2 separate regions of the Homo sapiens genome follow, and region 1 is linked to region 2. Evidence: promoter capture Hi-C in human tissues and cell types (Jung and others, 2019). All regions are on one chromosome and are shown on one strand. The core of a region is centred on a gene start or on the middle of the fragment in contact, and the rest is flanking DNA. Distances in the headings are between cores, read along the strand shown.

Region 1 (7,054 bases), core at 3,927-6,426, 85 kb after region 2:
CTGGGCTGTCCCCTACCACCATCATGCGGGGAGAGGAGGCAGAAGTCCCTTGAAGAATCAGTAGGAGCTGGAGTGGGTAGAATGGCCCCTGGGTTGAGAGTCAGGTCCTGGTTTCCAGTCCTGGCTCCAACTGACTGTGATGACTGTAATGATTGTCGCCATCATTGAGAAACTTCTGTGAACAGCTCTGTGCTGGGAGTTTAGAATTCATCCCCTCAACCTAGTGAACCAAGCACTAGGATTTGCCTCACTTTGCTGAAGAGGAAACAGACTCAGAGAGGCTGCCTTTCGTTGCCAGAGTCCTACAGCTGGGAACCACCCCAAGGGGACTTGAATCCAGATCTGACTCCATGGTCACACTTGCGCCACCAGAAAGGCCTCAAAACAGGAAGAGGGTTGGGGCTCAGAGTGGGGATGGGGACCGTGAGGGGCTGTATTCGATGGCCTCCCGCAGGTCTCCCGAGGGTCTCCTCTCCCAGCTTCCCTGGGGTGAGGCGAAGTGGGGGAACGAGCTCCGCAGCCCCAGATGACCCCTGTCTCGCTTGGTCCCCCGGGCCCAGGCACGTCGGTGATGCAGGTGATGGCCTCGGATGCGGATGACCCCACGTACGGCAGCAGCGCTCGGCTGGTGTACAGCGTGCTGGACGGCGAGCACCACTTCACCGTGGACCCCAAGACCGGTGAGGGGCAGGGCGGGGCCAGAGGCGGAGCCGTGGGGCGGGGCCAGGGGCGGGGCGGGACGAGGACCACCCCAGACGTCTGCTCTGAGCCTTCTGTCCCAGAAGCTCTGAGGACAGCACAGGGGGCACCTTGTGCACAGCAGGAGAGTCCAGGGTCGCGGAGAGGGAGGGGCAGCCAGGCAGGAAGATGGACGGACTGAGGAACAGAAAAGGAATGGGGTGGGGGGTTCTTCCAAAACTGGAAGAGAAACCGAAAGGCAGGAAGCAGCCGCTGTGGGTGCCCTAAAAGGACCTTAAAGGTCCGAACTAAGCGGCTTGTCCTTGGAGCTAAGTTGAAGCAGGCGTTTGAGCTCTTCCGGGGTCACAAGTGTAGTTTGGGGAAGGGAGGACGGCTGGTTTCAGCAGTTTTGAGAGCTCTGCCCACATGGCAGTTGTTAAGGACCTGATGGAAAAACACAAGCATCTTTAAGGAAAGGTGTCTAAGACACAGAGACCTTTAAGGAAGAGTGGCTTCTTTCTTGCTTATCCCCTCAACACCACCAAACGATGGTGCAGCACGCCCACCCGCTGTCCCCACTTCACTCACGGTGACATTAGAACCTGACTAATCTCTGAGAAGCCTTGGGGGAGTGCGAGGAGGACAGGATGAGAAGACTGAAGACCAGAGAGGTGAAGTGACTCACTTGAGGTCACACAGCTGGGAGTGGCTGCCAATTCCAGCGGGGTGCTCTCACTGCTCCTGGGATAGGAGGGGCCTGGCTTGGGTGAAGGCGGGGAATGAGATGTCAGACAGCACAGAATGTTTATCAAATGCCATTGTGAGGCTCACAGCCCTGTGGGGCAGGAGGATAGGCAGATATGTAGGGATTAGGATGCAAGGCTTCTCGGAGGAAGTAGCAGCAATCTACAAAGGATAAGAAAGTGTCTGCGGGTGCAGTGGCTCACCCCTGTGATCCCAGGACTTTGGGAGGCCAAGGTGGGAGGATTGCTTGAGTTCAGGAGTTTGAGACCAGCCTGGGTAACACAGAGAGAACCCATCTCTACAAAAGAAAAAATTAGCTAGGCATAGTGACAGGTGCCTCTAGTCCCAGCTACTCAGGAGGCTGAGGTGGGATGATTGCTTGAGCCCAGGAGGTCGAGGCTGCAGTGAGCTATGATGGCACCATCACACTCTAGCCTGAGCAACAGAGCAAGACCCTGTCTCAAAAAAAAAAAGAAGAAGAAGAAGAAGAAGAAGAAGAAGAAGAAGAAGAAGAAGAAGAAGAAGAAGAAGAAGGTGTTGCCAGACCAAGATTTCAGAGAAGGGCATTCCAGGTACAGGGTATGGCTCAGGCAAAAGTTGGGAGAAGTGGAACAGCCTGGGGCATGAGGGGAATTGTAAGCAGCTCAGGCTTCGGCAATCAGGTTTGTTGAGAGGTGACGTCGAGAGGGTGGCAGGGGCCTGACTGTGCTGGTGTGAGCCAGGCTAAGGAGCTTGGATTTCATTCTAAGGGCAAAGCTGGGAAGTGGGGTTGGGGGGAGTTGATGGATTTGGGTTTTGGGTTTTTGTTTGTCTGTTTCCTTTGTCTGGGGGAGAAGGGAGAGGATTCCAATCCATGAGCACAGTTGTAATTGTATTTTCTCACACAAAGTATCTTCATTATTTTTTCTCCCCAAAAAAGTAATACATTTTATAAAACATTCAAACATTAAAGAAATGCTAAAAAGAAAAAAAAAAGAAACGCTTCCCACTCCCTATCACCAGTAATTGCAGCCCCAAAGGTAGCCACTTGGTGTATACATCCTATGAGATCTTAGACTCATTCACTCGAAAATATTAACTCACATTTAATAGATAATACATCTCAAGGTTCAAAATTCAAAAAGTCCAAACAGGAATTTAGTAGCAATTCTTCACCCCATCCAGTCCCCCAGCCACCTAGTCTGTATCCCCAAGGCAACCAATGTAATTTTCTCATGCATCTTCCAGAGCTATTCTGTACATGTACAAGAAAATAAGGTACATGTATTTATTTTTTTTACATGAATGGTAGCTATAAACACACTATACACACGGCTTGCCTTTTTCACTTAACAATACATTTTGAAGATTATTCCATATGAGTACATAAAGGGCTTCCTCTTTCTCTTATTTAATGGGTGTTATGGATACACTAAAATTTATTTCACCAGTCCCCTGCCGATGGACACTTATGCTGTTTCCAATCTTTTGCTACAACAAACAATGCTACAGTGAATAACCTCACACATACATCATTTTGTGCTTGTGTGAGTATATCTGCAGGATAATTTTCAGGAAGTGGAGAAGCTTGGTCAAAGAGCACATGCATTCGGAATCTCGATAGATAATGCCGAAATGTACCAGACGACACTCCCGTGAGCCACGTGTGAGAGTATCCATTTCCCCTCCTCCTCACCTACAGTGCAGGTTCACTGATGACTACTAAGCAAGGAAATGACATGCTCTGGTTTTAATTTTAACAAGATCCCTTGGGCTGCTGCTACAGAGCTTGGCTCAGAGGCAGGAATTAGAGGCAGGGAGGCCCTGGAGCCCAGGATGCCCAGCATAGAGTCCCAAATGGCAAAAACCAAAAGCCTGCGCCCTTTCTTGACAGTCACTCAGACTCCTTAACCTACCTGTCTAGCTAGGAGGCCAGGGATGATGAAGAATTCATAGTGAGGATTGATTGAGATGCCGAGAAGAGAGAATAGGGGGTGGCAGTGAGATCCTGCCAAGGACAAACCTTGGGGGCCAACACGAATCTGCAGGACTAGGTTGGGGGAGGAGGCAGAGTTTCTTTCCATGTAGTAGGATTTATTCATCTAGGCAAGGGGTACCATCAACAGAAACAGGAGGAGTGTAAATTAAGAAAGCTACTAGAGCAGAGGAATGAGTGAATGTGCCCTGGAATCTGATGCAGAGCTAAAAAATTCAGCTTTAACCATATTGGCTTTAAGATGAGCGAAAACAGGGAAAGAAACACCTAGAACTTCTAGCAGGCCATGTGAAATACAGGTGTGGAGCTCCAAGAATGGTTGGGTCTCTTAAAGCTTCAGTTTCCCCATGTGCACAGGGGAGAGAATCATACCCATCTCACTTGATGGTCGTGAGGATTCAATGGGACAGTTCACTCATTCATTCAACCACTATTTATTGAGTGCCTATTATGTGCCTGGCTCTGTGCTAGGCACTAGGAATGCTTCAGTAGGCAAATCTAAGGCTCTGCATTCATGGCACTTTTATTGAAGTAGAGAATATAGAAGATGAGCATGTACACATATAACATAACGTCAAGCAGTGACGAGTGTGAGGACGAAACCTAATGCAGAGGAAGGACTTAGATTAAGACTTCACAGCCAGGCATGGTGACTCATGCCTGTAATCCCAACACTTTGGGAGGCCGAAGCGGGTGGATCACTTGAGGCCAGGAGTTTGACACCAGCCTGGCCAACATGGTGAAACCCGATCTCTACTAAAATACAAAAATTAGCCGGGAGTGGTGGCACATGCCTGTAATCCCAGCTACTCGGGAGGTTGAGGCAGGAGAATTGCCTGAACCCAGGAGGCAGAGGTTGCAGTGAGCCAAGATCGCACCACTGCACTCCAGCCTGAGTGACAGAGCAAGACTCCATCTCAAAAAGAAAAGAAAGAAAGAAGGAAGGAAGGAAGGAAGGAAGGAAGGAAGGAAGAAAGGAAGAAAGGAAGAAGAAAGAAAGAAAAAGAAAGAGAGGAAAGAAAGAAAGAAAGAAAAAGAAAGAGGAAAGAGAAAGAAAGAAAGAGAAAGAAAGAAAAAGAAAGAAAGAAAGAAAGAAAGAAAGAAAGAAAGAAAGAAAGAAAGAAGGAAAGAAAAAGAAAGAGAAAGAAAGAAAGAAAGAAAAAAGAAAGAAAGAAAAAGAAAGAAATCACAACAGGCCTTTCTGGGGAAGTGACCTTGGGGCAGAGACCAAGTGCAGTGAAGGTATGAGCCATGCAGATTTCTGGGGACCAACACTGCAGGCCAAGGGAACAGGAAGTATGTAAAGTGCTCAGCCTGAGCCCCAGCACAAAAGGATAGTGATGGTGATGAGGAAGCCTTCATGCATTCAGCCTGAGGAGGTGGGGACCCTAGGGTTGATAAGCCTTGGGGAGATGGGGAGAAGAAAGAACATAGAAATAAGAGAAGGGCCAAGACTGAGTCTTGGGAGGTGGCAGGGCTGGGCAGATGAAGGATCAGAGAGTGGGGAGGACATGAGAGTGGGAAGGACAGCCAGTTTCTAAGAAACAGCATCCCCCGCAGCAGAGGGCCCAGAAGATGGTGACAACTGGGAGGCCACCGGGCCTGGGGGAGCAGAACAGTTCCCAAGAGGTCAGAAAGTGAGGACCAGGCAAGGCAGTTGAAGGAGTTCAAATGGGGTCCCTGCTCCAGAGCCCCTCAACTCTTCAATCTGAAAGGGTCCTTTCTGGCACGTCCCAGGAAGAACCAGGTTTTGCCTCCCCTTGCCCACAGCCCCATGGCAAGAGCTGCCCTGGTGCCATTCCCAGCCCCAGCTCTAGTTCCCCAGCCAGGAATATTCTGCTGATGCGGGTCTATATTTAGCAGCTGCTGCGAGGTACAGTCTGTTCTTGCTGTGCAGATAGCAGGGAGCAGAGCCGGAACGGGGCCTGGGAGGAAGGTGTGAGGGAAGGGAGGAGGCGGGGCGCCGCGAGGCCCCAATGCCAGAGGAGGAATTAACTTGTGTGTTTTAAAGGCCAGGCCTGCCAGCAGGCCCCCCACAGGGGCGACAGGGATGGCATTTGTGTGCTAATGAGGCATCACACGGGCTCCAGGGCCCCTTTTGCAGCATTTGGAGGGGACAGCAGGGGAGGCCAGGACAACAGCTGGAACTGGGGACGATGGGTGAAGACAAGGCTGCGGGAGCTGAGGCCAGGTTATAATTACCAGCCCCCGCCCACCACCACCCCAGCAGGAATAGAAATGTTCTCCGAGATTTCAAGATCTCTGCTGAAAATTGTCAACTGAGCCAGAGTCATCCATTTTACAGGGAGGGAATGAAACTAACATTTGTTGAGCACCTTCTAAGTGCCAGATCCTGGGGTCAGGATAATGAAGTAGACCTGGTTTCTGCCCTCACGGAGCTTCTGCTCCAGCAGAGAAGCAAATGGATAGCTACACCCAGGCTGTGAGAGGGGCAGTGGAGGGGCACTGGGAGTCAGCCAGTCAAAACGTCATTTGAGCACTTGCTGTGTGCCAGGCCCTATAGACACGGGATGAACAAGACCAGCATGGATTTCTGCCTCTGTGAAACTTGTTTATGGAGGTACTCAATCCAGAACTTGAGGAAAGAGATCAGCAAGGCATCTCCAAAATGTGAGGCCTGCTGCTGGAAGCTTCCTCTCATTCAGTCCTCTCAACAGCCCTACCAGGTGGGTGTCTCCATTTCACATAAGAGGAAACAGAGGCTCAGAGAGGCCCAGGAACTTGCCCATGGTCAGCTAGCATGTAAATGGTGGAAAGAAGACTTGAGCCCATATCTGTCTGGCCCCAGAGTCCTCCTGCAGCCTATCTGAGTCTGTGCAGCCCCAGCACCTGTAGTAGGCCCTCGGCAAGACTGTAATGAATGAATGAGTGAACGGATGAAGTCAAAGAGCCAGAAGCTTTCAAGAACAACTTCATGGACTGTTTTGGAATATTTGTACCCCTAGATCTCTCAGAGGGCAATAGTCTCCACCGTGCTTCTCCCAACATCAGGAGGAAGACAGTGGAGTGGAACATAGTAGATAGGAAAATATGTTATCAATTCCTCCCCGCCCTGCACACGGCTGCTTACTAATGTGACTTTGCCACTGTTCTGGGCAAGAGGTGGAGTCTGTTTCCCTACCCCTTGAACCTGGGTTCGCCTGGGACTACTTTGGCCAATAGAATGTGGCAGAAGTGATGTTATGCAAATTCTGACATTAGGCCTTAAGAGACCTTGCAGCTTTCACGTTTACTGTCCTGGAACACAGTCCTGAGACTGCTATGTAAGGAAGCCAGCCTACTGGAGGATGAAAGAACCAATGTGTCCCCGCCGACAGCCAAGACCAACTGCCAGACATGTAAATGAGCCATCTTGGACCTTCCAGTCAGCTGCTCCTCCGGTTTAGGCTCAGATGCGTGAGTAAGCCCAGACAAAATCAGCAGAGGAATGGCCCAGCCAACTGGATTTCTCTATCAGTCATCTAGAGCTATGTAAAAAAAAAAAAAAAAGAAAAAAAAAAACCCAAAACCTGGTAGCTTAAAGCAACAATAATTTATTATTTGTCACAATTTGGTGTGTCAGCTTGGCAGTTATTTTGCTGGGGTCACTCATGCAGCAACAGTCAGCTGTCGGGTCGCTGGGAGTGACTTCACTGG
Region 2 (6,520 bases), core at 1,507-4,006:
AAGCACTTGGCATTTTATTTGCCCAGAGGCAATATTGCACAACAGTTCAGTGTGCAGGCTTTGGCCCCAGCCTGCCTTGGTTTGAATCCCAGCTCTGCCATAAACTAATTGTGTGACCTTGGGCACGTTTCATAGTTGCACTGTGCCTCAGTTTCCCCATTATGAATTTATAAATTTGTTGAAAGTAAAAGGAAATTATCTGTGTAAAACATTTAGGAGAAGGCTTGACACATGGCACAGGTTCACTAAATGTTAACTGTTGTTACTATCATCTCATTTTCTCTTCACATCAATGCTGGGGGAAGTGGCTTGCCCACGTGTCACACAGTCTGCATGGGGCAGAACTGCTCTCAGAGCCCAGGCCTGCCCAGTTCTTCCTCTGTCACACTACACTGCCTCTTGCTGCCCCTGCCACACTGCAGCAGGAGTCCCAGCTTACCTTCTCCCAGACCAGAGTGAGAGGTCTGACCCAGGCCCAATGCGTCAACCTGATCTCTCTACTTGCCGTCTGAATGATCTTGCTATTTCAACACCGTGTCTCAGTTTCCTCATTTGTAAAATGGGCTAATACTAGTATCTGATTATTGTGAGGACTTAAAAGCAGAACTATGGCACACAGCAAGTGCTCAATAAACATTCAATGTGTTCTCAGAGCCTAGCCATAGTGCTCACAACAGAGTGGACACTCAGAGAAAGTTTGTTGAAGGAAGGAAGAATTGGAAATAACGGTAGAATGAGCCTGAAAATAGGAAACATTGGGATAGGAAAACCTGAGGGTCTAATAAAGAGTCATGGGGAGCTGGGTGCAGCAGCACATGCCTGGTGTCCCAGTTACTTGAGAGGCTGAGGCAGAATGATCACCTGAGTCCAGGAATCCAGCCTGGACAACATAGTGAGACCCCCATCTCAAAAAAAAATAAAAATAAAAGAGAGAGAAGAGAGAGACCAGAGCAAAAGAGAAAGATGTGACAACAGTTCATTCAATAACATTTATTGAGCACCTACTGTGTGCATGCAGATGTGACAGCAACAGTGTCCCAGACCAAAACAACCTGTGGACAACTAAGTAGGTCTGACTCCAGAGATGAACAGCACACACCAGAGCCTGGAGGAAGAGGCAAAGAAGGAATGGGAACTGGAGCAAACAGCAAAAGTGAGTCAGAGCGGGAGGAGAGAACCAAAAGTGAAGAGATGCACCTGGAAGGCTGGCCTCTGGTCTCTGAAAGCATGAAAGAGTGGAGGCTAAGAATAGAGAGGAGAGGGGAAGAGAGAGATGGAGAAAAGGAAGGCGATAGAAAGGCAAGGCTGGAAGAGATCAATGAAGGGAAATAAACCAAGAGAAGGACGTAGGGGAGGGAACAGACTGGCACAGTGGAGAATACATCTCAAAATAAATAAATGAATGATGGAGTTTAGTAGGAGGGGCCAGAGGGGCAGCCAGCAGGAGAGGTGATTCCAATCATCAGCAAGACGGACTAGGGTGTGGAGATGGAGATGGAAATTGGGGAAGGAGGCGAGGAGGAGAGAAGGATAGGGGCGAGGTAGAGCTGGGGGTCCTGGAGGGCCCTGCCCCCTCTTTGCCATGAACTTCAGCAGCTGCTTGTGGGTGATTAAATGGCTGGTCATTGGCAGCTTGGCGGGACAGAGGTCTGCAGCTGTCCAGTCTCCTGTTATCCTTCACTCACCTATCTGGAAGCCATGGGGAATAGGGGGGCGGGCAACTCCTAAGGGGACCTACAACCCAAGACAAAGGGTGGGTCTATGGGAGTCACTGGTCCTATCCTACCATCAACGACCTCATATTGGGAACTCAGGAGTGGGGTGGGAGGGTCTCCTCCATTAGGCCTCATCCCAGAGAGATGAAGTAGTAAGGAGAGCCAGGCAGCCAGGAGAAAGAAACAGGGCCAGGTGGAAAAAACATCAGGGAGCAGACCAGCCGGATTTTTAAAAGAACGGAAAACCCAACCAGCAAGGAGTTTCTGGGCAGTGGGAAGATTTTATTGGGAGACTTCTCCAGGTCAAGGTGGCACCAAGTTAAGGATGGAGGTGTCTTGTTTTGCCTGCTTACTTTGTTGGTTGCAAGGATGTCCAGCGGGACTCTCCAGAGGAAAAGCCCACAAGTTTCTCTCCCGGGGACACCCGACCTCCCACCTGCCTGGAGACTCAGCCCTGGGCACCTGGTCGGTGTCCACCTCAATGCACAGTGACTGTTTCTGAACTGGCAGATCTGGTCTGTGCAAGGTGCCTTTCTGGGCAGCAAGCCGGGGCGGCCACTGTTCGAGAAGCCTGCTCCTACCCTGGCCTGCGCCCCTGCTCCTCTGAAGGCGGCCTCCCGCAGTAGTCAGGGGGCGGAAATGGGAAGCCCTATTCGCAGTAAAATCAGGTGGGGAAATAGGCTCTGGTCTCAAACTGCGGCCACCTGGGGAGCTGCCAGGCGAGGAGGTAGATGGTCCCCCTCCTGGGGGCGCTCCCTTCGCGCGGATCTGGGGTTGGAGGAGGGAGGGGCACTGTCCCCTGGGGGGTTTCCTGGGACTGGGCCGCCCGAGAGAGGGAAAGGCTGTCCCCTCCTGGTGTAGGAGGGGCGCGATCCGGGGGGCGGGGGCTGGGGTTCCCCGGCTGCGGGGGTCCGGGCCGGCGGCCGCCTGCGGCTTGGCGCTGCGCGGCTCCTGCCCGGCGGGCCCTGCATTCTCCGAGTCTCCACCAGAGGCTGCGGGAGGAAGGAAGGGATCCGTCCCTTGCACACTTCCCCCCAGTCAGACACGCACACTCCCTCGCTCCCGCTCGCTCGCTCACTCCCTCGCTCTCTCGCTCTCTCGCTCTCTCGCTCACACACACGCGCGCACACGCCGCCGCGGCTCCCCCTCTCGCTCCCGCTCTCCCTCCGGCTCCTGCGGGCGGCCGCGGGGCTCCGGACTCGCCCGCTGCCCGCGCCGGGGCTCCCGCCCCACGCAGCGTCCCGAGGCGGCAGGACTAGGGGGAGCCCCGGGCCGCTCCCCGAGGTAAGAGCGCGGGGTGCCGCGGGAGGAGCGGCCGGATCGCCGCCGAGGGGAGGCTGCCCGGCAGGGAGGGAGCCCCCTGGCCGGCGGGAGCGGCCGGGCAGGCGGCGCGGGGGGCGAGCCTCCAGCCGCAGGAGGAGCCGGGGTGCCTGCGCCCGGCCCTGCGCGCCCCCTCCTCTCGGCCGGGAGGGCGGGGAGGGAGTTTCCCACGTCCAAACTTTCCCCGGCGCGGAGCCGAGCCGCCTCTCGGCCCGAAGCCCGCAGCTCCCACCCGTCCCCACAACCTCGTCCGCCGCGCGCCCGGGAGCCTCCGGGACCCCCGCGGGCCGAGGGGTGGCAGCGCCAGGGGCCGAGCCGGCGCGCCAAAAGGGGCTGGGAAGGTGGCGCACAGCCCTGACGCGAGGGCTGGGACCCAGGCGTTCCCGGTCCCCCAACCCTGCTAGCGGGGCTCGGCTCCCCGGCCCCTCCCAGAGGCGGGGTCCGGGGCCGGGAAAATACCGCACGGCGCGAGCGTGTGCGCGCGGTGTGTGTGTGCGAGGTCGTGCCGCGTCCGGGGACACCCGGAGGCTGACTCCAGCCGCGGCGACACGCACGGTTCTGGTCCCCTCTGAGCCGGGGAGGCGGCCCACAGGGACCCCTGCCGGCCCCACCGGCGCGACCCCCCCTGCCCTATGGCCGTCGGGCGGGCTGGCGGTGAGCGAGAGCCAGCGCTGCTCTCTTCCTTAGGACCCGACTCCGGAGACACCGTCCCCGCTGGGGAAGAAGGACGGGGCCCCCGACAGCCTAACGTCCAAAGAGAGCGCCACTTAGGGCTAACCCTCGGGGGCCGCGGCGTTTACTGTGAAGAGTGGACTGCGTGGGCGCGCGGGGTGCCGGGCAGCCCTGGGTGGGCACAGTGTGGACCCGTCTCGCTCGCGCCTCCCCGCTGCCTCTTCTCTGGCAACGTCGGGCCCTGTCCCAGGCGGGGCTGCAGAGGGTAGGGCTGATCCAGGATCCCCCGAGGTCTCCCCGAGGTGCAGGGCACCCCCTTGTGGCGGGCAGAGAAGCTGCTGTTTGAAGCTGCTCAGGTCTTCCGAGGTGCTCGCTCCTTGGAACCTCTTCTCTCCAAACCCTTCGGGCGTCGCCAGGGTTGCGCATGCCAGCTTCTTTTTCCGTGGGGCTGATTCCAGCACTCCCCAGGTTTCTGGGGCTGGCCGAGGTGCCCCCAGCACAGGCAGCGGCTCATTTGAGGGCTTTGGCTGTTGCCAGCTCTCTCTCCCTCTCCACCCAGGTTCAGGATCTCATCCTCTTCTCCCACTGGTCAGCGCCAATACCCTATATCAGCATCACCACTGCCCTAGGGCCCAAAGGCTCCTCCCTAACCACCGCGACTCTCTGTCCTTCATTTGTATCCCGTATATGTGTCCATCAGTGCCCACTCCGTCCCCCTCAGTTGCCCCTAGTCTACAGCCCTTGTTGAAACTTGGCCTCTACACCCATAGTGACATCCTTTGGTCTTTGCCCACCAATGACCATTTCCTCGTCCCCCCCAACCCCGACCCATCTTCTATCCTGTCTGCCTCAGTTTTTCTGTAGCACTCAACTGTTCCCTGCCCCAGCCATTTCTCTACTTCACCCTTATTTCCCTCCTTGTCCCAGTGTCTGGGACACTCCTCTTCCATTCCTCCTGGAAGGGAAGGGCATTGCCAACATTTAAACACTGCTTCCTGGAGATGTCTGTGTGCCCTTCCCGGTCCACCACTGCCAGTGCCTCGGGGGCAGGTACTTTATAAAGCCAGCCAGGTCTCTCTCAGCTAAGGGGCACCTGTACCTCTTGGGTGGCCCCATCAGGGGACCCCTGGAGACAACCCCTTTCCCTATTCCTAACTGTGAGCAGCACATTGGAGACCACCTGGGCTGCCCTCTTTTCCATTTTCAAGGATTGGCAACAGCAGCCCGAGGTCACATGGTAAGCTATACCCAGAGCCGGAATAGGAACCCAGGCATCTTGACATCCAGGCCTCACCAACGCTGCTTATGTGTTGGGTAGGCCTGGGGCAAAACAGAGCCGTTTCTTGGCTTCACGCTGCAGGCAGGACAAGAAGACACTTGCTCTAAATTCAGCATGAGGTGTTCAAGTTAGACCCCCAGTGCTCCCAGGCCAGTGCCGGAGGAAAGCTGTTGAATGCCTTTAGCAGAGACGCCGAGTAGCAGAAGCAGAGGACAAAGTTTGGCCCCTAAAAGTGTGTTGTGACCTCCGGGTGAGTCACAGCCTTTCTGTCAAAAGGGTGGCTGTGATCTCTGGATGTTTCTGGTCGTGCTCTGGAATAATCATACCTAGAGGTTGGAACCCCCAAAGCCCCTGCTGCTTCCCCAGGCACTGGTCTTTCTGAGAGCTTTGCAGGAGCGCTGCATTCTGAAGTTGTCTGACAGGGGGCCGGGCCATAGCTAAGGCAGGGAGCCCAGGAGGGCCCGTCTCCTCCCGAGTTGGCAAAGTTCGGAGCAGCCAGTTTATTTACCACATGGGCGATAAGAGTCAGCCAATTAAACTTCCTCTCCTCTCTCTCTCTGTTCTTCCCCCTCCCCTTTTTCTTCCATCAGGAAGCTCCAATCTGAAATGCAGCCTCAGGTAGAGTGAGAGAGAGTGAATGATTTCTGTTTATATAACACGGGTAGCAGCTGGCACTGCATGGCCTGGGAGGGAGTGAGGGAATAGAAGACCCTACGGTGGTGTCTGGGCTGAGGCCCCGGGGCCAAGGACTTCCTCATTCCTCCCCATAGCTGAGCCAGGAAGGGTGCTAGGGGCTGGGGACCAGGTGGGGAAACAGGCTGAGAGGAAACCCAGGCCTCAGGTCAGGCTCAGAGAGAAAAGCCTCATGCCCCCCGCAAGAGTGGGCACACCCTCCACCCCGGGTTCCTCAAAGCACCTTTAAGATGGAGCTCTCAACTCAGGCCTCTCCTTCCTACAACCTTGTGTTTTGATTCTGGCCTCTCTAGAGAAAGCCTAGATATTTCACCACGAGGACAGGCTCTGACCTCAACTTTTCATCAGGGCAGTGGGCATGATAGGACTGTCTTTCCGCCCATGGAGGAGACAAGGCCTAACAAGAAAGTTGTCTGTGGAGTGATTTGAGCTCTGTGTATCTGGCAGGAGGGACGTTTTCTCATTGTTGATGATACACAGTGGCTGCTTGGAAACAGAGGTGCAGGACAGGAAGGCTGGAGGCATGGCTGTTATATGCAGTTGGGCAGGTTGTTGACTGTCCAAGGGCATTTAATGCAGGAGGAGAGCGGGGACTGAAATCTATTTTAAGCTCCACTCTCCAAGTCAGGTGCCCCAAAGACAGGCTGTGCCTGCCTGGAGGAGGGGGCATCTTTCTCTAATTTGCAAAAAGGCTTCATATACTTACCAGCCATGGGCCTATGGGGCTGCTTACCCCCAGAAAAGGATCCCTTTCTTTAATTACTCCAAAGGTGGCCCATCTGGGGGTTAAGGATATATTCACTACTCACTCCTTAGCTCAGCTCTCTTACAATGGGCACAC

The links. Contacts are between HindIII fragments. The study calls those that stand out against the background at their distance.
Region 1: a fragment that was not itself captured here is called in contact with the fragment with the promoter of CDH22 in region 2 in 10 of the 25 tissues and cell types used here (H1 embryonic stem cells, adrenal gland, aorta and 7 more).

Annotation. Positions count from the first base shown.
Region 1 is chr20:46,221,134-46,228,187 of GRCh38, reverse strand. It overlaps CDH22 (cadherin 22), which reads left to right. Exons shown (of 12, transcript NM_021248.3): 4 at 561-680. Among named protein-coding and RNA genes, the nearest start is that of CDH22, 84 kb to the left of the region's middle. The HindIII fragment of the contact is 3,632 bases long and covers 3,361-6,992 here.
Region 2 is chr20:46,304,734-46,311,253 of GRCh38, reverse strand. CDH22 (cadherin 22) reads left to right here and starts at 2,756. Exons shown (of 12, transcript NM_021248.3): 1 at 2,756-2,999. The HindIII fragment of the contact is 29,361 bases long and covers 1-6,520 here.